Regions from separate parts of the Homo sapiens genome. Here regions 1, 2, 4, 5, 6 and 7 are each linked to region 3. Evidence: promoter capture Hi-C in 16 types of primary human blood cells and fetal thymus (Javierre and others, 2016). All regions are on one chromosome and are shown on one strand. The core of a region is centred on a gene start or on the middle of the fragment in contact, and the rest is flanking DNA. Distances in the headings are between cores, read along the strand shown. Region 1 overlaps LOC107984913 (a long non-coding RNA gene). Region 2 overlaps RPL22 (ribosomal protein L22). Region 3 holds the start of C1orf174 (chromosome 1 open reading frame 174). Region 4 has its middle 2.1 kb from the start of DNAJC11. Region 5 holds the start of THAP3 (THAP domain containing 3). Region 6 holds the start of CAMTA1-DT (CAMTA1 divergent transcript). Region 7 holds the start of HES2 (hes family bHLH transcription factor 2).

What was found. The method cuts DNA at HindIII sites, captures the fragments that hold promoters and counts their contacts. A CHiCAGO score of 5 or more calls a contact.
Region 1: a contact is called between a fragment that was not itself captured here and the fragment with the promoter of C1orf174 in region 3, in 1 of 17 cell types (neutrophils). The highest score is 7.5, in neutrophils.
Region 2: a contact is called between a fragment that was not itself captured here and the fragment with the promoter of C1orf174 in region 3, in 3 of 17 cell types (activated CD4 T cells, total CD8 T cells and naive CD4 T cells). The highest score is 8.7, in activated CD4 T cells.
Region 4: a fragment that was not itself captured here is called in contact with the fragment with the promoter of C1orf174 in region 3 in 1 of 17 cell types (naive CD4 T cells); the score reaches 8.0 in naive CD4 T cells.
Region 5: a contact is called between the fragment with the promoter of THAP3 here and the fragment with the promoter of C1orf174 in region 3, in 3 of 17 cell types (neutrophils, total CD4 T cells and naive CD4 T cells). The highest score is 14.0, in neutrophils.
Region 6: the fragment with the promoter of CAMTA1-DT here is called in contact with the fragment with the promoter of C1orf174 in region 3 in 11 of 17 cell types (naive CD4 T cells, naive CD8 T cells, non-activated CD4 T cells and 8 more); the score reaches 23.1 in naive CD4 T cells.
Region 7: a contact is called between a fragment that was not itself captured here and the fragment with the promoter of C1orf174 in region 3, in 1 of 17 cell types (non-activated CD4 T cells). The highest score is 5.3, in non-activated CD4 T cells.

What each region holds. Positions count from the first base shown.
Region 1 is chr1:6,606,121-6,608,877 of GRCh38, reverse strand. All of the region lies in intron 1 of LOC107984913 (a long non-coding RNA gene), which reads left to right. Among named protein-coding and RNA genes, the nearest start is that of KLHL21, 4.6 kb to the right of the region's middle. The HindIII fragment of the contact is 3,900 bases long and covers 1-2,757 here.
Region 2 is chr1:6,194,334-6,197,058 of GRCh38, reverse strand. All of the region lies in intron 2 of RPL22 (ribosomal protein L22), which reads left to right. Among named protein-coding and RNA genes, the nearest start is that of RPL22, 3.9 kb to the left of the region's middle. The HindIII fragment of the contact is 2,380 bases long and covers 196-2,575 here.
Region 3 is chr1:3,898,865-3,901,564 of GRCh38, reverse strand. C1orf174 (chromosome 1 open reading frame 174) reads left to right here and starts at 1,293. Exons shown (of 4, transcript NM_207356.3): 1 at 1,293-1,393. The coding sequence starts at 1,379. It overlaps LINC01134 (long intergenic non-protein coding RNA 1134), which reads right to left and starts at 1,161. Exons shown (of 4, transcript NR_024455.1): 1 at 934-1,161. RefSeq lists silencers at 213-392, 1,473-1,542 and enhancers at 593-852, 492-1,061, 1,062-1,630, 1,631-2,201. The HindIII fragment of the contact is 4,148 bases long and covers 1-2,593 here.
Region 4 is chr1:6,702,598-6,705,297 of GRCh38, reverse strand. No RefSeq gene overlaps it. Among named protein-coding and RNA genes, the nearest start is that of DNAJC11, 2.1 kb to the right of the region's middle. The HindIII fragment of the contact is 1,441 bases long and covers 530-1,970 here.
Region 5 is chr1:6,623,605-6,626,304 of GRCh38, reverse strand. THAP3 (THAP domain containing 3) reads right to left here and starts at 1,437. Exons shown (of 6, transcript NM_001195753.2): 1 at 1,351-1,437; 2 at 1,013-1,155. The coding sequence starts at 1,086. PHF13 (PHD finger protein 13) reads right to left here. Exons shown (of 4, transcript NM_153812.3): 4 at 2,275-2,700. RefSeq lists a silencer at 637-1,046. The HindIII fragment of the contact is 4,820 bases long and covers 1-2,700 here.
Region 6 is chr1:6,783,704-6,786,403 of GRCh38, reverse strand. CAMTA1-DT (CAMTA1 divergent transcript) reads left to right here and starts at 1,424. Exons shown (of 3, transcript NR_149049.1): 1 at 1,424-1,746; 2 at 2,181-2,255; 3 at 2,359-2,512. It overlaps CAMTA1 (calmodulin binding transcription activator 1), which reads right to left and starts at 950. Exons shown (of 23, transcript NM_015215.4): 1 at 829-950. The coding sequence starts at 873. RefSeq lists silencers at 198-377, 388-657, 868-1,027, 1,368-1,777, 1,908-1,967 and 1 more and enhancers at 1,233-1,907, 1,908-2,584. The HindIII fragment of the contact is 4,377 bases long and covers 1,199-2,700 here.
Region 7 is chr1:6,418,657-6,421,404 of GRCh38, reverse strand. It overlaps HES2 (hes family bHLH transcription factor 2), which reads left to right and starts at 1,486. Exons shown (of 4, transcript NM_019089.5): 1 at 1,486-1,629; 2 at 1,703-1,798; 3 at 2,065-2,164; 4 at 2,252-2,748. The coding sequence starts at 1,585. The coding sequence ends at 2,532. The HindIII fragment of the contact is 3,974 bases long and covers 1-2,748 here.

The DNA.
Region 1 (2,757 bases), core at 129-2,628, 2.7 Mb before region 3:
GGGATTACAGGTGTGAGCCACGGCACCCAGCCTAATTTTTTATATTTTTAGTAGAGACAGAGTTTCACCATGTTGGCCAGGCTAGTCTCAAACTCCTGACCTCAGGTGATCTGACTGCCTCGGCCTCCCAAAGTGCTGGGATTACAGGCCTGAGCCACTGCGCCCAGCCTTTTTTTTTTTTTTTTTTTTTAGCCCGGAGTGCAGTGGTTCGAACACGGCTCACTATAGTCACTGCACCCTAGGCCTCCTGGGCTCAGGTGATCCCCCTGCCTCAGCCTTCCTAGTAGCTGGGACTACAGGCATGCACCAGCATATCCAGCTTATTTTGTTTTTTGTTTTTGTTTTTTGTTTTTTTGAGGCGGAGTCTTGCTGTGTCGCCCAGGCTGGAGTGCAGTGGCACGATCTCGGCTCACTGCAAGCTCCGCCTTCTGGGTTCATGCCATTGTCCTGCCTCAGCCTCCCGACTAGCTGGGACCACAGGCGCCCGCCACCACGCCCGGCTAATTTTTTATTTTTTTAGAAAGATGGGGTTTCACTGCGTTAGCCAGGATGGTCTTGATCTCCTGACCTCGTGATCTGCCCTCCTCGGCCTCCCAAAGTGCTGGTTGTTTTTGTATTTTTTGTAGAGAAGGGATTTCACCACATGGCCCAGGCTGATCTTGAACTCCTGGTCTCAAACGATCTCCCCACCTCGGCCTCCCAGAGTGCTGGGATTATGGGCATGAGCCACCACGCCCAGCCCAGTATATTCTTAGGAATTCTTTTTACCCTCTGTTTTCTGCCTTGCTCACTTCCGTTTCCAGGAGATGGGAAAAAAGTGAAAATTCCACAAAATCTTCTTTTCAGCTTTTAGTAACTTGAAAACTGTATGAATATGTGTGTGAATCATTTGAAATCATTAATAATTTATAGACCATATATTGTCAGTGTTTCACACAGTGAATCTGACCTACAGATAGAAGAATCAAATGAGTTTCTTGAGTTCATACTGGTAGAATACAAAGGTAATAGCTAAGCTGGACATGGTGGCTTACACCTGTAACCCCAGCACTTTGGGAGGTCGAGGCAGGTGGATCACGAGGTCAGGAGTTAGAGACCAGCCTTGCCAACACAGTGACACATCGTCTCTACTAAATATAAAAATTAGCTGGGCATGGTGGCGCACACCTGTAGTCCCAGCTACTTGGGAGGCTGAGGTAGAAGAATCGCTTGAACCTGGGAGGCAGAGGTTGTGGTGAGCCGAAATTGCGCCACTGCACTCCAGCCTGGGCAACAGAGCAAGACTCTGTCTCCAAAAAAGAAAAAAGAAAGTTAATAGCTAAAGGCTGGGGTGCTGTGGCTCACGCCTGTAATCACAGAACACTGGGAGGCCAAGGGAGATGGATCATTTGAGGTCAGGAGTTGGAGACTAGCGTGGCCAACATGGCAAAACCACATCTCTACCAAAAAAATACAAAAATTAGCCAGGCATGGTGACAGGTGCCTGTAATCCCACCTACTCTCCTGAGGCAGGAGAATGGCTTGAACACGGGAGGTGGAGGTTGCAGTGAGCCGAGATCATGCTACTGCACTCCAGTCTGGGGAATAGAGCAAGACTCTGTTTCAAAAAAAAAAGATAATAACTAATACTATATGTCAAACACTGTTTAAATGTTTTTACTTACCCTATCTCATTTACATATGTAAATGCATTTAATAAATAGAGAATAGCGCAACATTCCTTAAAGAAAAAATGTTTAGATTGGGCACAATGGCTCATGCCTGTAATCCCAGCGGAAGCTGAGGTAGGCAGATCACCTGAGGTCAGGAGTTCAAGACCAGCCTGGCCAACATGGTGAAATGCCATCTCTACAAAAAATAGAAAAATTAGCCAGGTGTTGTGGTGCGTGCCTGTGATCCTAGCTACTCGAGAGGCTGAGGCAGGAGAATCACTGGAACTCAGGAGGCGGAGGTTGCAGTGAGCTGAGGTTGCGCCACTGTACTCCAACCTAGGCGACACAGGGAGACTTCGTCTCAAAAGAAAAAAAAAAAGGAGTTATATATGGTAAGTGCATTATACCTTAGAAAACCTGGAATCTGAAAAAATCAGAGTGTATGATATGATACAAGAAAAGGCACAATAGCTGTGGACGTAATCAAGGCTAAGGAGTGTGTTCCTAAATATTCTTAAAGAAAAAAAAAGAATAACAGCTGCTCTTTTTTTTTTTTTTTTGAGACGGAGTCTTGCTCTGTCCTCCATGCTTGAGTCCCATGATCTCAGCTCATTGTGACCTCCGCCTCCTGGGTTAAAGCGATTCTCCTGCCTCAGCCTCTGGAGTAGCTGGGATTATAGATGTGCACCACCGCGCTTGGCTAATTTTTGTATTTTTAGTAGAGATGGAGTTTCACCACGTTGGCCAGGCTGTAAACAGCCACTTTTAAAATGACCTTAGGGTCTGGCATGGTGGCTGATGCCTGTAATCTCAGCACTTTGGCTCAGCACCAAGACTGGAGGATTGCTTGAGTCCAGGAGTTTAAGACCAACCTGGGTAACACAGCGAAACCCCGTCTCTACAAAAAATTTAAAAAATTAACCAAGCGTGTTGGCTCACGCCTGTAGTCCCAGCTCCTGGGGAGGCTGAGGTAGGAGGATCACCTGAGCCTGGGAGGCAGAGGTTGCAGTTAGCTGAGATTGTGCCACTGCACTCCAGCCTGGGCAACAGAGGGAGATCCTGTCTCAATAAAAAAGGTAACATGGCCAGACCAGGTGGCTCATGC
Region 2 (2,725 bases), core at 136-2,635, 2.3 Mb before region 3:
GACTCCGTCTCAAAAACAAAACAAAAAAAGTTACTGAGAAACAGACAAATTTCACTGGGTCCATGGCATCCCCCTTGCTGTTTGGTGTGTTTAAGCATAAGTGAGGGACCCTGATCCTGACTATGGGCTGCCTCTGTCCTGGGTCTCACTGCTTTGATGTGGAGCTTTGGACAGGTGGCAGCAGTTCCCGAAGCTTTTCTATATTATGAAGCATCTGAGCTTCAGTGTTTAAAGTACCCTGCTTGCTGAATTGTAATTGGAGCTTTTTTTTTTTTCTTCAGATCTTGCTCTGTGCTGATTTTTTGCCCCTGTATTTGGCCCATTCCCCAATATTCCTCTATCCTATTGCAATCTAGAAATATTAAATAATCCTTCCGCCACATTTTGACTCAGCAGTTTGGTTTTGACATTTTATTCTTTTTCCTCTAATAGCCATGTTTGGGGGATTCAGACTTCGTATTTGTGTGTAGAAGTCTCCTAAATTTGCATTTGCTCTAAATTCTCCAGAAGGTTGAACTATTGCCAGGATCAGTATCATTACAACAAAAATAATTTTTAAACACAAAATAATTATGGTCACGAATTATCCAGAATGGAATTTAGGTAACCTCTTATAGTTTATTGCCTTTATGTAGATGCTGTTTGCATCTGTGTCCTTCAAGAAATCCCCTATTTCCTTAGTTCTTTCTCTATCCAGTGACTTCTGGCTTTTCTGTGGCCTCCTCTTTTTCAACTTTGGTGTCTTCCAGTTTGGTATTCACATGGTGGCCCTGTTCTGGCATTATTCCTGCCTCCCTCCCTCTGAGCCATTCCCTCAGCCCACTCATCTGTTTGTGTGATTGTCTTTCCTTCTGGAAGCCTCCTTAGGATAGAAAACTTAAGTCATTTATGAATCTTGAGATGCAGAATTCAAGATTTCTGACCTAATCACTCTGTGCCCCATCTATGGTTAATGTATACTTTTTGTTTATTTTATTTTATTTACTTTGTTTTTTGAGACCAAGTTTTGCTCTTGTTGCCCAGGCTGGAGTGCAATGGTGCAGTCTCGGCTCACCACAATCTCCGTTTCCCTGGTTCAAGCCATTCTGGTGTCTCAGCCTCCCGAGTAGCTGGGATTATAGGCGCCTGCCACCACGCCTGGCTAATTTTTGTATTATTAGTAGAGATGGGGTTCCTCCATGTTGGTCAGGCTGGTCTCGAACCCCTGACTTTAGGTGATCCACCCACCTCGGCCTCCCAAAGTGCTGGGATTACAGGCATGAGCCACTGCGCCTGGCCATTTTATTTTATTTTTATTTATTTATTTTTGAGGTGGAATCTCACTCTGTCACCCAGGCTGGAGTGCAATGGTGTGATCTTGGCTCACTGCAACCTCCACCTTCCAGGTTTAAGTGATTCTCTTTCTCAGCCTCCCGAGTAGCTGAGATTACAGGCGTGTGCCACCATGCCCACCTAATTTGTGTATTTTTGTGGTAGAGACGGCGCTTCACCATGTTGGCCAGGTTGGTCTTGAACTCCTGACCTCAGGTGATTTGCCAGCCTCGGCCTCCCAAAGTATCGGGATTACAAGCATGAACCGCTGTGCCCAGCCAAATTTTTTTTTTTTTTTTTTGAGACGGAGTCTTGCTCTTTGTCACCCAGGCTGGAGTGCAGTGGTGTGATCTCGGCTCACTGCAAGCTCCGCCTCCCATGTTCATGCCATTCTCCTGCCTCAGCCTCCCGAATAGCTGGGACTACAGGTGTCTGTCACTATGCCCGGCTAATTTTTTGTATTTTTAGTAGAGACAGAGTTTCACCGTGTTAGCCAGGATGGTCTCAATCTCCTGCCTTTGTGATCCGCCTGCCTCGGGCTCCCAAAGTGTTGGGATTACAGGCGTGAGCCACCGCGCCTGGCCCCAAATTTTTATTTATTTATTTATTTTGAGACGGAGTCTTGCTCTGTTGCCCAGGCTGGAATGCAGTGGCACGATCTTGGCTCACTGTAAGCTCCGCCTACCGTGTTCATGCCATTCTCCTGCCTCAGCCTCCCAAGTAGCTGGGAAACAGGCGCCCGCCACCACGCCTGGCTAATTTTCTGTATTTTTAGTAGAAACAGGGTTTCACCATGTTAGCCAGGATGGTCTCGATCTCCTGACCTCGTGATCTGCCCACCTCAGTCTCCCAAATTTTTATTTTTTGAGAAAGGGTCTGTTGTCCAGGCTGGAGGGCAGTAGCATGATCCTGGCTCACTGCAGCCTCAACCTCATAGGCCCAAGTGATCCTCCCACCTCAGCCTCTGGAATAGCTGGCACCACAGGCATGCACCACCATACCTAGCTAATTTTTAAATTTTTTTGTAGAGGAAGGGTCTTCCTAAGTTGCCCAGGCTCGTCTTGAACTCCTGGGCTTGAGCAATCTTCCTGCCTTGGCTTCCCAAAGTGCCGGGATTACAGGTGTGAGCTACTGCACCCAGCCAGTTAACATATTTTGTATTGGAGTTTTTAAACAGAAAATTATAGGAATTTTGAGCTGAAAGGGACTTCATGTCATTGCCATAGCAAGAAAACAACTAAAAAGGTCCTTTTTGGGCAAAGCTTTCTGAAGCACAAGGAGGTGAATGTCTTGCTGAGGCCCACACAGTAGTTTGCAGAGAATATCTCAGGCTCCTGAGTGGCTGCTGCTTCTGCTGTACCACACATGGCCCTGGACCAGGTCTAGAATTGTTTCAGTCCCTATGTCTTTGCTC
Region 3 (2,700 bases), core at 44-2,543:
CACAACAGAACAGTGGTCCTCAGCTTTACAAACACCTCCCTCAGCGGCGGCCAAAGAGGACGCATCACAGCAGCCCAGGCCTGCTAGGGGCGTGTTTGCTGGAGGAGGCGTGGCCGCCGTGTGTCCATCCAGACCTGATAGGGCGCGGCCATTGGAGGAGGCGTGGCCGCTGCGGGTCCACCCAGGCCTGCTAGGGGCGTGGCCATTGGAAAAGGCGTGGCCCCTGCGAGTCCACGTTGGCCCCGGAGAGTAACGGGACGGCGGAGGGGTCATTTCCCGCCTTGCACGTAACGGGGGACGAAAACCGGCCCCCAGCCCGACGCCGGACCCTGGCCTCCTGGGCCCACCGACGGCCTCCACTAAGGCCCCCTCCCGCCCGCAACGTGGGGGACAGCTGAGGCCACTTCCCGGGCGGGCCACCCCAACCCAAAGCGGCATGTCGCGGGGCAGCACAGCCTGCGACAAGCGCGCAAAGCTCCCCAGCGGGACCGCAGCACGGGCAGGCCTGGGAGTCCCTCGCGCTGCTCAAGGCCGCTAACCGGCACTCAGAAACCAGCGCTCTGCGGCACTGGAGAAAGCACTTCCCGCCCTCCTGCAGGCTGTTAGCCAGGGGATGCAAGGGGAGGGGCCCCTCACGGACGTCCCGCCCGCCCCTCTCAAACATGGCGGCCACAGGCGCACCAAAGGAAGAGCCCCTCACAAACATGGCCGTCCGCCCCTCTCATACATGGCGCCAAAGAGGCTTCAAGGGAAGCGCCCCTCACGAACATGGTTGCCTGCCCCTCTCAAACATAGCGGCCACAGGCGCACCAAGAGAAGCGCCCCTTACAAACATGGCCGTCTGCCCCTCTCAAACATGGTGGCCAAAGAGGCTTCAAGGGAAGAGCCCCTCAAGAACATGGTTGCTCCCCCCTCAAGAACATAGTTGCCCACCTCGCTCAAACATGGCGGCCACAGGTGCACCAAGGGAAGCGCCGTTCACGAACATGGCCGTCTGCCCCTTTCAAATATGGCGAACACAGAAGCTACAAAAAAAGCACCCCCCGCAAACATAATCTCTCAGGCCTGCCACGGGCGTGGGAAACATAGCGGCTACAGGGGTGCCAAGGGACGCGCCCTCATGAACATGGCCGGCCACAGGCCGACTTCCTGCTCCAGTGTCCCACCACTGGCCCAAGGCCTGTGACCTTCGCCCGCCGCTTACGAAAGAGCCAACACGGGGGGGGGGGGGGGGGGAATCACATGACGAGGGTGCTGCACTGTGATTGGCTGTGCTGACGTCGGACGCCGCCGCGGCGCGCTCTGCAGACTCCGGGTCGCCGCTCCGCCGGGACGCGTTGGCCGGGGCGCGCGGTGCTTGGCTGCGGTGCTCACACTCATGAGGAGCCGGAAGGTGAGGGCTGGGTCCCGGCAGCAGCTGCGCCGGGCAGGGCGGGGACTCTGGGTCACCTGCTGTCTGGAGAACCGGGGCGGGGTCACGGGGTGCCTGTGGCCTAGGAGCGGCCTCCGCTTGGGCCTCGCCCCCGGCAGTAGTTGGGGGGCTCCAGGCCACGCTCCCGGGAGAAGGAGGGCTGCCAGGTCACGCCCCTGTGAAAAGGGGGCTCCGGGCCACGCCCTCGGAAGAAGTGGAGCTCACAGGTCACGTCCCCGGGAGAAGGGGGCTCCCAGGTTACCCACCCCCGCAGAATGGGGCCTCTGGGCCACACCCCCGAGAGAAGGGGAGCTCCCAGGCCATGCCCGCGGGAGAAGGGGGGCTCCGGTCCACGCCCTCGGGAGAAGTGGAGCTCACAGTTCACGTCCTGGGCAACAGGGGGCTCCCAGGTCACGCCCCCTTGAAGGGAGGTTTCGGGCCACTTTCCTAGGAAGGTGGGGCACCCTCTCCAGAACTGGTTTCAACTCCTGGTAGTGCTAGATGCTGCAGAGCTGAGTTTGTGCCCCTCAACTGCTGCCACTCCAATGGACGTCACACAGCAAGTGACCTCAGCTTGGCCCCATCTACTGAATGTGCTAAAAGTGGGGTGATGAGGGATCCACCAAGAGGGTGGTGAGGATTGAAGGGGGGTGCCAGTGTCTGGCAAGGGGCAAGTGCTCATTGCGTGGGTGTAACAGTTAAGGCGAAGGACCCTTTTCACAGTGGACCCGGCGCGGGTCCCGGTCCACTTGGGAGGCTCTGAGCTGCATGGAGGCTCTCCTGGTTTGTTCAAATGGAGTGGCCACTTGTGAATTCCAACTCCTTTTACTATTTTTATCTTTGAACCAAAACTTGTCTCCTGTAGGCACATATACTTGGATCTTTTTTAAAATGCAGTCTGGTAGTTTCTGCCTTTTGATTGAATTGTTTAGCCCATGCACATTTAATATTATTGATACACTGTAGTTAGGTTTACATTTGCCATTTTACTTTTTCTTTTCTTTATACAAGTCTGTCTTTTTCTTCCCCTGTTCCTTCTTTAAGTGGATTAAAGTGAATATTTCCTAATGTAGCATTTTAATTTAATGATTTTTTTTCCACAACTTTTTTGGGTTTTTTCCAGTGCTTTATGTTTTACCGTATACAGCTTAATCTTCATATTCTCCATATACATCTTAAGCTTCAGATTTGTACTAGGTTAATTCCAAGTGATACAGAAATGTTACTCTTATATGGTTATTTTTGTGGTATTTTGTTATATGTATTACATCTGATAATGTTACAAACTC
Region 4 (2,700 bases), core at 1-2,500, 2.8 Mb before region 3:
GAGGCTGAGGTATGAGAATCACTTGAACCCAGGAGGTGGAGGTTGTGGTGAGCAGAGATCATGTCACTGCACTCCAGCCTGGGCAACAGAGTGAGACTCTGTCTCAAAAGAATAAATAAAATAAAGATGAGAGAATTTGTTAGCAGTTGCATAAATGCGTATATCTCATATAATATTTGCGTAAATATAAAATACATATGCCCATGTATGTATAGTTACATAAATATATTACATCAGTTTATATTTAAATGTCACCTATTAAGTTTTGCTTTACAGCTATGTTACAGACTGTTTTGTGGTTTCACCCAACAAAAAGAAACCAAAAGGCCAGGCACGGTGGCTCACACCTGTCATCTCAGCACTTTGAGAGGCTGAGGCGGGCAGATCACTTGAGACGGGAGTTCCAGACCAGCCCTGCAATGTAGCAAGACCCTGTCTCTACAAAAAATACAAAGCTTAACCAGGTATGGTGGCGGGCACCTGTAGTCCTAGCTACTATGGAGGCTGAGGTGGGAGAATTACCTAAGCTTGAAGAGGTGGAGGCTGCAGCAAGCCATGATTGCACCACTGTACTGCAGCCTGGGTGACAGAGGGAGACCCCGTCTCAAAAAAAAAAAAAAGAAAGAGAAAAGAAAAAGAAAACAAAGTGCAAGGCATGAGTTAAAGCAGCTGGGTTTTGTCAGTTGCTCGGCGTAAGTAGTTTGTTGGATGTGCGTTTTTAACTTATAAATTTGTACTGCCTTTGGTTTCCATTATTTTGCCCGTTGAAGATTAGGGTTTTGGAGGAGAGAAACGAGAGAGCCAGCCTCAGAAACAGATACATTCCTCAAGCCTGTGGAGCATCTAAGTTAGCTTTCTATTTATCACCACCACTTTCCAAGTAACCATAACACAAAATCTCGTGGGCCCAAGAGAGGACAGCCACAGAGCATTCCTGAGTCACTATTTATCTTGTTTGAGTGGTGATAAAAACCAGGTCATTCTCAATCATAGAAACACAGACCTGGGCGTAGTGAAACATATGTTATGTTCCATTTATATAATTCCTAGAGGCTGTGTTTTCCAAAGCAGAGGAGGGATGGCAAAGAACTTCTCTACCCAAGTAAGCATTATGGCCCAATTAATGTCTACAAACCTAAGGAGGCCGGGCGCGGTGGCTCACGCCTGTAATCCCAGCACTTTGGGAGGCCGAGGCAGGTGGATTACTAGGTCAGGAGACCAAGACCATCCTGGCTAACATGGTGAAACCCCATCTCTATTAAAAATACAAAAAAAAAAAATTAGCCAGGCGTGGTGGCAGGCGCCTGTAGTCCCAGCTACTCAGTAGGCTGAGGCAGGAGAATGGCATGAACCCGGGAGGTGGAGCTTGCAGTGAGCCGAGATCGTGCCACTGCACTCCAGCCTGGGCGACAGAGCGAGACTCCATCTCAAAAAAAAAAGAAAAAAGAAAAAAGAAAAAAAAACCTAAGGGAAAAAGGAATGTCTCCACATTGTTGTTTTTACCCCCAGTCTCTCTGTATGAAATTCTTGGCCGGGTGCGGTGGCTCACGCCTGTAATCCCAGCACTTTGGGAGGCCGAGGCAGGTGGATCACGAGGTCAGGAGTTCGAGACCAGCCTGGCCAATATGGTGAAACCCCGTCTCTACTAAAAATACAAAAATTAGCTGGGCGTGATGGCGCACGCCTGTAGTCCCAGCTGCTTGGGAGGCTGAGGCAGGAGAATCGCTTGAACCCGGGAGGCGGAGGTTGCAGTGAGCCAAGATCGTGGCACTGCACTCCAGCCTGGGCGACCGAGTGAGACTCTGTCTCAAACAAAAAAAAAAAAAAAGAAAGAAATTCTTAAAGACTGTCAAATGTCAGCATGCAGTTTGGCCCTAACCACAGCTCTTTTCTCTGCAAAGGAGAAAAAGGCAAAGCCCATAACATTGCTGGAAGAGCTGATGGACCATGGAAGCTGTTGTGGAGAAGCTTCACACAACTAAAGAAATAGCCCTTAATTTACAACCTGGGCTGACAGTTTGTTTCAGGCTGACTCAACCCACCCGAACAATCTGTCTCAGCACACCGAAGTGTCTCATGCCAAAAGATCCTAAGAGGGCTGGGCAACTTGGAAGGGATGAGACACAGGCCCAGATGGTGCACATCTGGCCAAAAATTAGAAAGAGAAAGAAATCAGCCTCTCAAATCCACAGACAGGTGTTCGGGGCTTCCCAGGAGACCTGCTTATGAAGGGCAACGGGGATGGCTATGGACTGGTGGTTAGTGAAGGAACAACAAAGGTTTCTGAGACTTGCGCAGGTCAGCGGGAACCAAACAGGTGGCAAGAGTGGGCTGCTGTCCACCTTCCCTTGACAATGGCGTCATTTCGAAGACCTTTAAATTATTTAGATTGTTGTAACCAAGACATCTTTAATAATGCACCAAACAGCAGGCACCAGGTTGAAATCAATTAGACTCCACCGATAAATTATAAGGGAGAAATTTACAGGAGAATGGCTCTGGGGTAGGGACTGCAGGTACACATGCCTGCCAGAGACAATTATATCAGGAACCAAATAGTTATTGCTTTGTCATTTAAGCAGCAGAAAAGATGGCCAGGTGCTCCTAAATTAGAGCAATAACAAATAACTAAAATGAGGAGGCCTGTTCTGGGCAGGAAGGCTTCTGGGTGGCCAAGAGAAAAGACAATGGAGGTAGGAA
Region 5 (2,700 bases), core at 188-2,687, 2.7 Mb before region 3:
ATGAGGTATCGCTCTGTCACCCAGGCTGGAGTGCAGTGGCAAGATTATAGCTCACTGCAGCCTCGAAGCTGGGTTCAAGCGATCCTCCTACTTCAGTCTCCCGAGCAGCTGGGACTACAGGGGCACACCACCTTGCCTGGCTAATTTTTTTAAATTATTTGTAGAGGTAGGGTCTCCTTCTGTTGCCCAGGCAGGTCTCGAACTCCCAGGCTCAAGCGATCCTCCCGCCTCGGCCTCCCAAAGTGCTGGGATGACAGGCTTGAGCCACCGCGCCCAGCTGGTAACGTTTCAGTTCAGTGACGTTCACTTGGGGAAAACTCGCTGGGCTGTATACTTATGATTCGTGCATTTTTCTGCATGTACATTACGTATACTTCAAGCAAAGCATTTATCACAAAACAGAACAATGGGAGCAGAGGGAATGGGAACGATGAGCACAAGCCCCCCTTCGGAATGTGCCCAAAAGTGGGTAGAGAAATGGTGCCGTGACTGGACCTTGGAGAAAGCGCAACTGTGACTAATGACGATTGCTCCTGGGCCGGGCCGGGCCGGGCCGGGCGAGTGCTGGAGCAGACTCCAAAGTCTCCAGCGTCCTCCCGCGACCCTGCAGAGTCCCTTCCCACTGCCAGGACGCCCCTGGGGGTTCCACTCCTCCACTGCACTGCCCAGGTGCCGGGCTCCCTTCAGGACCGCGCGCGGCGGGGGCTGCAGCGACCAGGGACACAGCAAACCCCGGCCGCGGCCCGCTAGTCTGTTCAGCAAACACCTGCTCCGCTCCCTGCACGTCCCGGCCCTGGCCCCGCCAGGTGCGCCGCTGCCCCTCCGTCCGCCACTCCCCGCATCCCCGCGGCGGGCGCGGCGGCGCCAGCCCCTCTGGGCCCAGGACCTCGGCCTGTCCCCGGGCCCAGCGGCCGCACGCCTTTGGGCCTCCCGCCCGGCGCGCCAAGGCCTCGGAGTCGGTCCGCGGGCCCCGGGTCTGGGCCTCCCGCGCCCCCGGGTCCCCGCCTCTTACCGGTGGAAGGTGAGCTGCTTCCTGCGGCTGCTGTAGCGGTTGCAGCACTGCCGGGCCGCGCACGACTTCGGCATCTCGAGCCAGGCCTGGCTGCCCCCAACAAAGATGGCGGCGGCGGCGGGGCCTGCGGAGAGGGGAGGGACCTGCGGGGAGGGGCGGGGCCGCTGGGAGGTGGTGACGGGCCTGGCTCGCCTCCAGGGCGCGCTCATCCTGCCATCCCAGCCACCCGCGTCTCCCCAGGGTCGGACGGGACCCGGGGCGCCACGTAAAGGGGTGCTCCGGGCCCCAATTCAGGCCCGAAACCCCAACTCCTAGCCTTGGGCCTGTGCAAGTCTTACCCCATTCGCCAATGCTGGTCGCCTTTCACCTCCTTGCTTTGAGCACCCAACCAGGACGCATAGCCACTCACAGGCTTGGACAACTGGAAACCAACGGCCAACCCCTCAGTGTTTTTAGGGCTTTGAATTGTGAATAGGTCTGGACTCCTCTGACGTCACTGGAGGTGGTACTAGTTGGCCACTGGTGGTGTCAGTTCAGAGGCCAGACAGCTCACTGCCCTTAAGTTTGGTCACAGGGAACCCCCAAACGTGAAGAGGCAAAAAGGGCAACTGAAGGGGAGGGAGATTCCAGTTCAGGCCTTGCAGAAACTCCGAGGCTGCAGCTTTCTCAAAGCAGCCTATAGGGAAGGCGTCATCTTGTAAGAAGAAAAAAAAAAAAATCGGCCAGGCGCAGTGGCTCACGCCTGTAATCCCAGCACTTTGGGAGGCCGAGGCAGGCGGATCACCTGAGATCAGGAGTTCAAGGCCAGCCTGACCGACATGGTGAAACCCCATCTCTACTAAAAATACAAAAATTAGCCGCACATGGTGGCGGGCACCTGTAATTCCAGCTACTCGGAAGGCTGAAGCAGGAGAATCTCTTGAACCCGGGAGGTGGAAGTTACAATGAGCCAAAATCTCATCACAGCACTTCACAGCCTAGGTGACAAGAACGAAACTCAAGTCTCAAAAACAAAAAAAAAATCAAAAGTAGGCTAACCACTCACTGGGGCTTGAGCTAATCCTCAATCTGATGAAGAAACTGCAAAAACCATTCACATCTACTCGTCCTGTGGTTTGTTTCTAAGGAATTCACCAGCAAGGTACCTTAACACCGTGGGCATTTTCCATCCTGCTAAGTGCACACTGAGACGCTGCCTTCCCAGAGACTTGATGTAATCATGCTTTGGGGAGGTAGCAAGGAGAAAAGAAACACAATTGTCCTTCAGCACAGAACGCAATCGCCTGAACCTTGAATCATGAACCTCAAAGTAGCAATATATTTATTTACAAAATATACAGTTTCACAGAAACAGCTTCGCTTTATACACATAAACTTTAAAATTACACAGAACCATGTAAACGATGTGAAGTGTCTGGCCTGGCCAAAGCCAATGGGAGGGCCTACTTTTGGGGTGACATCCCTCCCTCCCCTCACTTCATTAGCCACCAACCAGGAACCACAGATGGGTCGTGCCTAATTTGCATATAAAGAAGCTGATTGCAGCTGCCCAGCTCAATCTAACACAAAAACCAAGGTGTCCGACTTCTTAGACACCACCCACAGGGACAGATCTGCTAAAAGAACAAAAATGCAATCAAGGAAACAAAATGGAGATGAGTATCACATGCATTCCAGAGGCATCGAAC
Region 6 (2,700 bases), core at 175-2,674, 2.9 Mb before region 3:
GTAAAGGGCAAGGGAGTGTGGAGATCCTCACTTGCCATAGAAACGGAGACCCCACCCTCCTGGCTGTGAGGGTGCAAGGGCAAGAGTAGGATGTGAACGACTGCGAGGGGCGGGGATGCTGCGCAGGCCCCCTTCCCTTCCCGGGAAGCGAAGGGGGAGGGGTCACACGAGGCCCTTCGGCCGAGGGACGCTCGGCAGGACGGGGTCCCCCTGGCGGGGAGAAGCTCGGGGACCCCCCGCCCGCTCAGGGAGGTGTCCACGGGGCTGAAGAGGGTGCCGGAGAGAGTACATCTGGCCCTGCCCGCCGGAGAGCAGGGGGCCGGCGAGGGCTGAGCGCCGGCCGCTGCCGCCCGACGGGGACCGGCCCGGAGCAGTGGGGCGCGGGGCCAGGAGGACCCGAGGCGGATAAACTTTCCGCCCCGCGGCCCCCACCGTGGACCCAGCGCCGGGGGTGCGGGGGCCGCGCAGCGGGCTCGGGAGCGGCGGGGATGCCCGGTCCGGGTGGGGGAGGCGCCGGCCCTCCGCCGGCTCCTCCTCCTCGCTGGGCCCGGTCCCCGCCCCGCGAGCCCCCCGCCCCCTCCGGCCCCAGCCCGCCCCCGGGGGTGGGGTGTGGGGCGCCGCGCTCCGCCGGCCCCGCGAGTCACCTCAGGACTCGGCCGCGCTCCGCCCCCCCACCCCGCCGGCCCCCTCCCCGGCCGGGTCGCCCGCCCGCCCGCCCGCCGCGCCCCCGCGCTCCCGCCCGGCGCCGCCGATGCCCGGGATGTCCGGCGGGGCCGGGTCCCGCCGCCCGCCGCGCCGCCCCCCAGCCCCTCGCGCTCCGGCTCTTACCTTCCGGCTTGTTTTCGGCAGCCATTTCCCCTCCGCGCGCCACATCCTCCTCCTCCTCGCGACCGGGACCCCGAGCGCGCGCCTCGTACCGCCGCCGCCGCCGGCCCAGCCACCCCGCCGCCGCCGCGCACCCGCCCTGGCCCCGCCCCGCGGCCCACGCACAGCTCCCGTTGGGCCGTGCGGCTGCCACTCATCGCTCCCGCCGCCAATCGCCCCGCACCAGGGGTCTCACTACTCTCCGGGAGGAGCGTCCTATCCATCCGGCCCATTGGCTGGTCACCACCCAACGGACTGAAAGGATTGGTCAAGAATCAACGCCCCCTCCCCACCCACTCCCAGGAAAGCCCGCCTTCCGGACCTAAACAAAGCTTCCTAGTGGCCAGAACCCGAAAGAACTGTCCAATCAGGACGGGCCCGACACGGAATATTTCCTCGAGGCCGAGACGTGGCGTTTTGATTGGGCGTCACTACAGTGTTTCCCAGGCCGTCCAGACCAATCAAAGGGGGTTCCCGGAACTCGGGAGCGGCGAAGGGAAGCCCCGCCCCCGAGCGTGACCGTCATGAGGAAGGCGCTCCCTCATTGGCACGCTGGGGCTTTTCCCGCGTGCTCCCGGGGCTGAAGGACGTTCCCGGGGAAGCCGCTGCTGGCGCGTGGGGTCCCGGTGGCTGTGGGGGACGCGCCGGGATCTCCGGGATCCCGCAGCCCGCCGCCGCTGCCGGTGGGGAGCCGGACGCGGGGGGCCTCGGGGCTGAGGTCCGCAGGGGTGCCGCGCCCTGGAGTCCGACTGCCTAGGAGTCCGGGCGTCGCTGCCGGCCGTGGGGGAGGGGCGAGCCTCCCGCCAGGCCCCGCCCCCTCGGCGCCGCGTCCCCACGGCCCCGGCGCCGCCCGCCTGCGCCCGCCTCCTGTGCCCGCCCCCGGTGAGCTCCGTTGTCCCCTTTTCTGGCGGCTTAAAATACCGAAACTTTATTTTGGTCACGTTGCCCATGTGACCCGCGGAGCGGATGACTCATGGTTGCCTGTCCCAGGATGAGGCCGCCGGCCGAAAGCAGAGAAGCGCCAGCCCCGGCCGCCCGGGTGGAGCGCTGGGCAGCCGAGTTTCCCACCCTCCTCAATCCGGAGAGTCCGCGCGGGGCTTTTCCTAATAAATAGCCAGGCACCCGCTGCCCTCGCGCTGCGTACGGGAGCACGTGCCCCCCGGGAGGTGGGCGCCCGCCAGGTGCCCCGGGAACGAGCCTAGGAACCGGGTCCGCCGAGTGCGGCTCTCGGGGCGGCTAGGCGTGCGGGTGGCTGGGCAGCGCTCCCAGGGACCGGCCTCTCTCCGGAGAAAGTAAGGAATTCTGCTCCTGGGCAGGTAATACCGGAAACAAAAGGAGAGGCTGCAATCGCAAATTGTTTAAAAAGAAGAAAAAGGAAAGAAAAGTTGAATGTAAGAGCTCCAGCCCCTCAATGTGATCTTGTACGGTTTGCAGTAAGAACATTTCATTCTTCCGCATTTTATTTTTCCTTTTGCTACTGTTGGTGACAACTAGCAAAATAAGTGAAAAATCCTCGTTCAAGTGTTCTGGCATTAAGATTGACTGTCACACTGAATTCTGTGCCAATCCTAACAACATGTGTTCTTTTTCTGGTCTTCACAAGTAAGAATGTCTTAGGTTTTCCAGAAATAAAGATGTCCCAAAAGAATGTTTTGTGTTACACACTCATTCTTCAAGAAACTTTAATTTTATGAGCCTCAAAAATTGCAAAATTTTAACAACGGCGGGACAATATTTTATCGATTAGCATTCTTAATAGCACCTATGTTGACGATTTGTGTGGAGAAACGGATTCTTAAAAGAAGTGCTGGTGGCATTGTAAATTAGTATATTCCT
Region 7 (2,748 bases), core at 82-2,581, 2.5 Mb before region 3:
GGGAAAAGATCCACAGAGTTTTTTGAGCTCTTAAAGAACAATTAATTGTCTTAGGGGAGGCCTATGGAGTCAAACTGGCCTCAACCACGGAGAACAAGGTCTCAGGTTCCTCCAAGCCCTGCTGGGCCAAATCTGTTGAAGGATTTATTCTTACTTGTTAGGTCTTTTATGAGGGTTAATGCAGGTTAGCGAGCCTTAAAGCGTTAAGCCCTGAGCTTGGCACACAGTAAGTGTCCATGAAAGGTGGCCTACATTCCTTCCCATGCCACAGATAGGTATGGGTGGCCTGGGCTCCCCTGGCCCAGGCTTCTCCGGGCCCCTCAGTGTGTTCGCTGGCCTTCTTCCACCCTGCGGCGAGAACCCTGAAGGAGGGAGACGTGGGGCTAGCGGCAGGGGTGGAGCTCGGAAGTGGGGTTCGGGGGACAGGGGGTTCATCCAACACCCTGGACAGAGCCCTCCTTGGCCCCGCCCCATAGGGGAACTCCTCCTGGCTGGCTCTGTGGATCCCTCCAGTCATCTCTCTGCCCGGCAGTTCGCAGTGTGGTTCGCGGGCGTGGCCGTTGCCCCGCCAGCCGGTCGGGGGAGGGGAGCCCGGAGCAGATGGGCGGGGGACGCCAGCCAGTTTGCCGCAGCAACGGCCACGCGGCGCGAAGGCGGTCCTGGGCGGGCCACTGGGGCCCGCACCCAAAACTGTCCTGCCCGCGCGTCACATGAGCCCTGACTGTCTTGCGGGCGAGAACCCGGACCCCTAGCCGGTGGGAATGAAAACGAGCTCCGAGGGCTCCAGGGCTGCCTCTGCTTCTCTAGGATTCCGTTTCCCCACCCAAAGCCTGGAGTGGGGTAACCAAAAGACTCTTAACTAGGCAAGCCGCCGAAGGGTTCTACGGGCTCCTTAGAGCCGGGCGTCCAGCGACTGGGGCCCTTGTCCAGGCTCGGCCTGTTCCCAGCGTCGAGGACTGGAGCAAGTCACGACCTTTCTCCGGAACTCGGATTTCCCGTCCAGCTCAGCCCTTCACCCGATAAAGCAGCTGGGGGTGCAAGTCCCTCCCGCTGCTGTCCCTCATGGGAGCTCCCGTAACCGCTGGGTCCCCTGCTGCGGCCCAGGGCGGGGCTCAGAGAAGACGCTGAACCCGAGCCTGGGGAATGAATGAAGGGCAGCATTGGAGAGGAGGGACCGTAGCTCCAGTCAGGCAAGGCCTGGCCCCACCTGGCCCTCCTGCCCTCGGGGTCACGCAGCGAAGGCCCCCGATGGCGCCTTTACCACTCTCCCGCAGGTGCTCGGGGAAAACTGGGGGCCGCCACCCCGCGGTAGACAGGACGCAAAGGCGGGGAGCGGGATCCCCGGGGGCGTCGCGGTCTCCCCTCCCGGCTCCACCCTGCGCAGGAACAAAGGCAGGAGGTGGGACCAGCGGGCGGCCGGACTCCGCGGGGCGGGGCGGGGCGGGCGAGCCGCTCCCTTAAAGCTCGGCCGCGGGCGGGGCGCGCACTCGTCTGGCACCAGCCCGGGCCGCGCCCGGGACCTCATTTCGGACCTCGGTTTCCCTTTGCGTGGGGCTCGCAGCTGCCACCGCTTCCCCGCGGAGCATGGGGCTGCCTCGCCGGGCAGGGGACGCGGCGGAGCTGCGCAAGGTGGGTACCGGGGACTGGGGGCGGGGCTGGGGACTCCGGGGACCCGTCTAACCACCGCGCCGCCCGTCCGCAGAGCCTGAAGCCGCTGCTGGAGAAGCGCCGGCGCGCGCGCATCAACCAGAGCCTGAGCCAGCTTAAGGGGCTCATCCTGCCGCTGCTGGGCCGGGAGGTGAGCGCGCCCGGGCGGAGGGCAGAGGGTCCTGGGGCGCGGAGCGGGGGCAGGGGGACGGGGTGCTCCTGCGGGAGGAACCCACCAGGGGGTTCCGCGCGGCGCCCGAGGCGGAGCCTGGGTGGGGTGGGCGCGTCGGAGCGGACCCCCAGCAGGCCACGGCGCGCCCCACACCCAGCTCCCGACTAGAGCGAGGGTGCGCACGGTAGCCGGCCAAAGTTCTGTCTTGGTGGTTCTCTGTCGCTCTTCCTCGTGGCCGGGCGCAGAACTCCAACTGCTCGAAGCTAGAGAAGGCAGACGTCCTGGAAATGACCGTGCGCTTCCTGCAGGAGCTGCCTGCGTCCTCATGGCCCACGGCAGCGCCCCGTGAGTGAGCCCTCCCTGCCCTGCCGCGCGCTCTGCACCCCGCACCCGGCACCCTACCCCGCGCCTCACGCGGCTCTCCGCCCGCAGTGCCTTGCGACAGCTACCGCGAGGGCTACAGCGCCTGTGTGGCGCGCCTGGCCCGCGTGCTGCCCGCCTGCCGTGTCCTGGAGCCCGCCGTGAGCGCGCGCCTGCTGGAGCACCTGTGGCGGAGAGCGGCCAGCGCCACCCTGGACGGCGGGCGCGCTGGGGATTCCAGTGGCCCGTCTGCCCCCGCCCCAGCGCCCGCGTCTGCCCCAGAGCCCGCATCCGCTCCGGTGCCCTCGCCGCCCTCGCCTCCCTGCGGCCCTGGCCTCTGGCGGCCGTGGTAGCCCCTCGGCCGATCCACAGACCCTGCCGACTGCTTGGGACCTTGGGGCACTGGACAGGTTGAAGCTCTTGGTGGCGGCTGCTGTTCCCATCATTAGGGGCCAGCCCAGTACCCACACCCAGGCCGGAAGCCGGCTGTTTGTGACTGGCGTGGCAGACTGAAAGCCCTGGGGCTGGGGCTCGGCTCAGGGAATAAAAGGAGCGTCCCTGCTTCACCC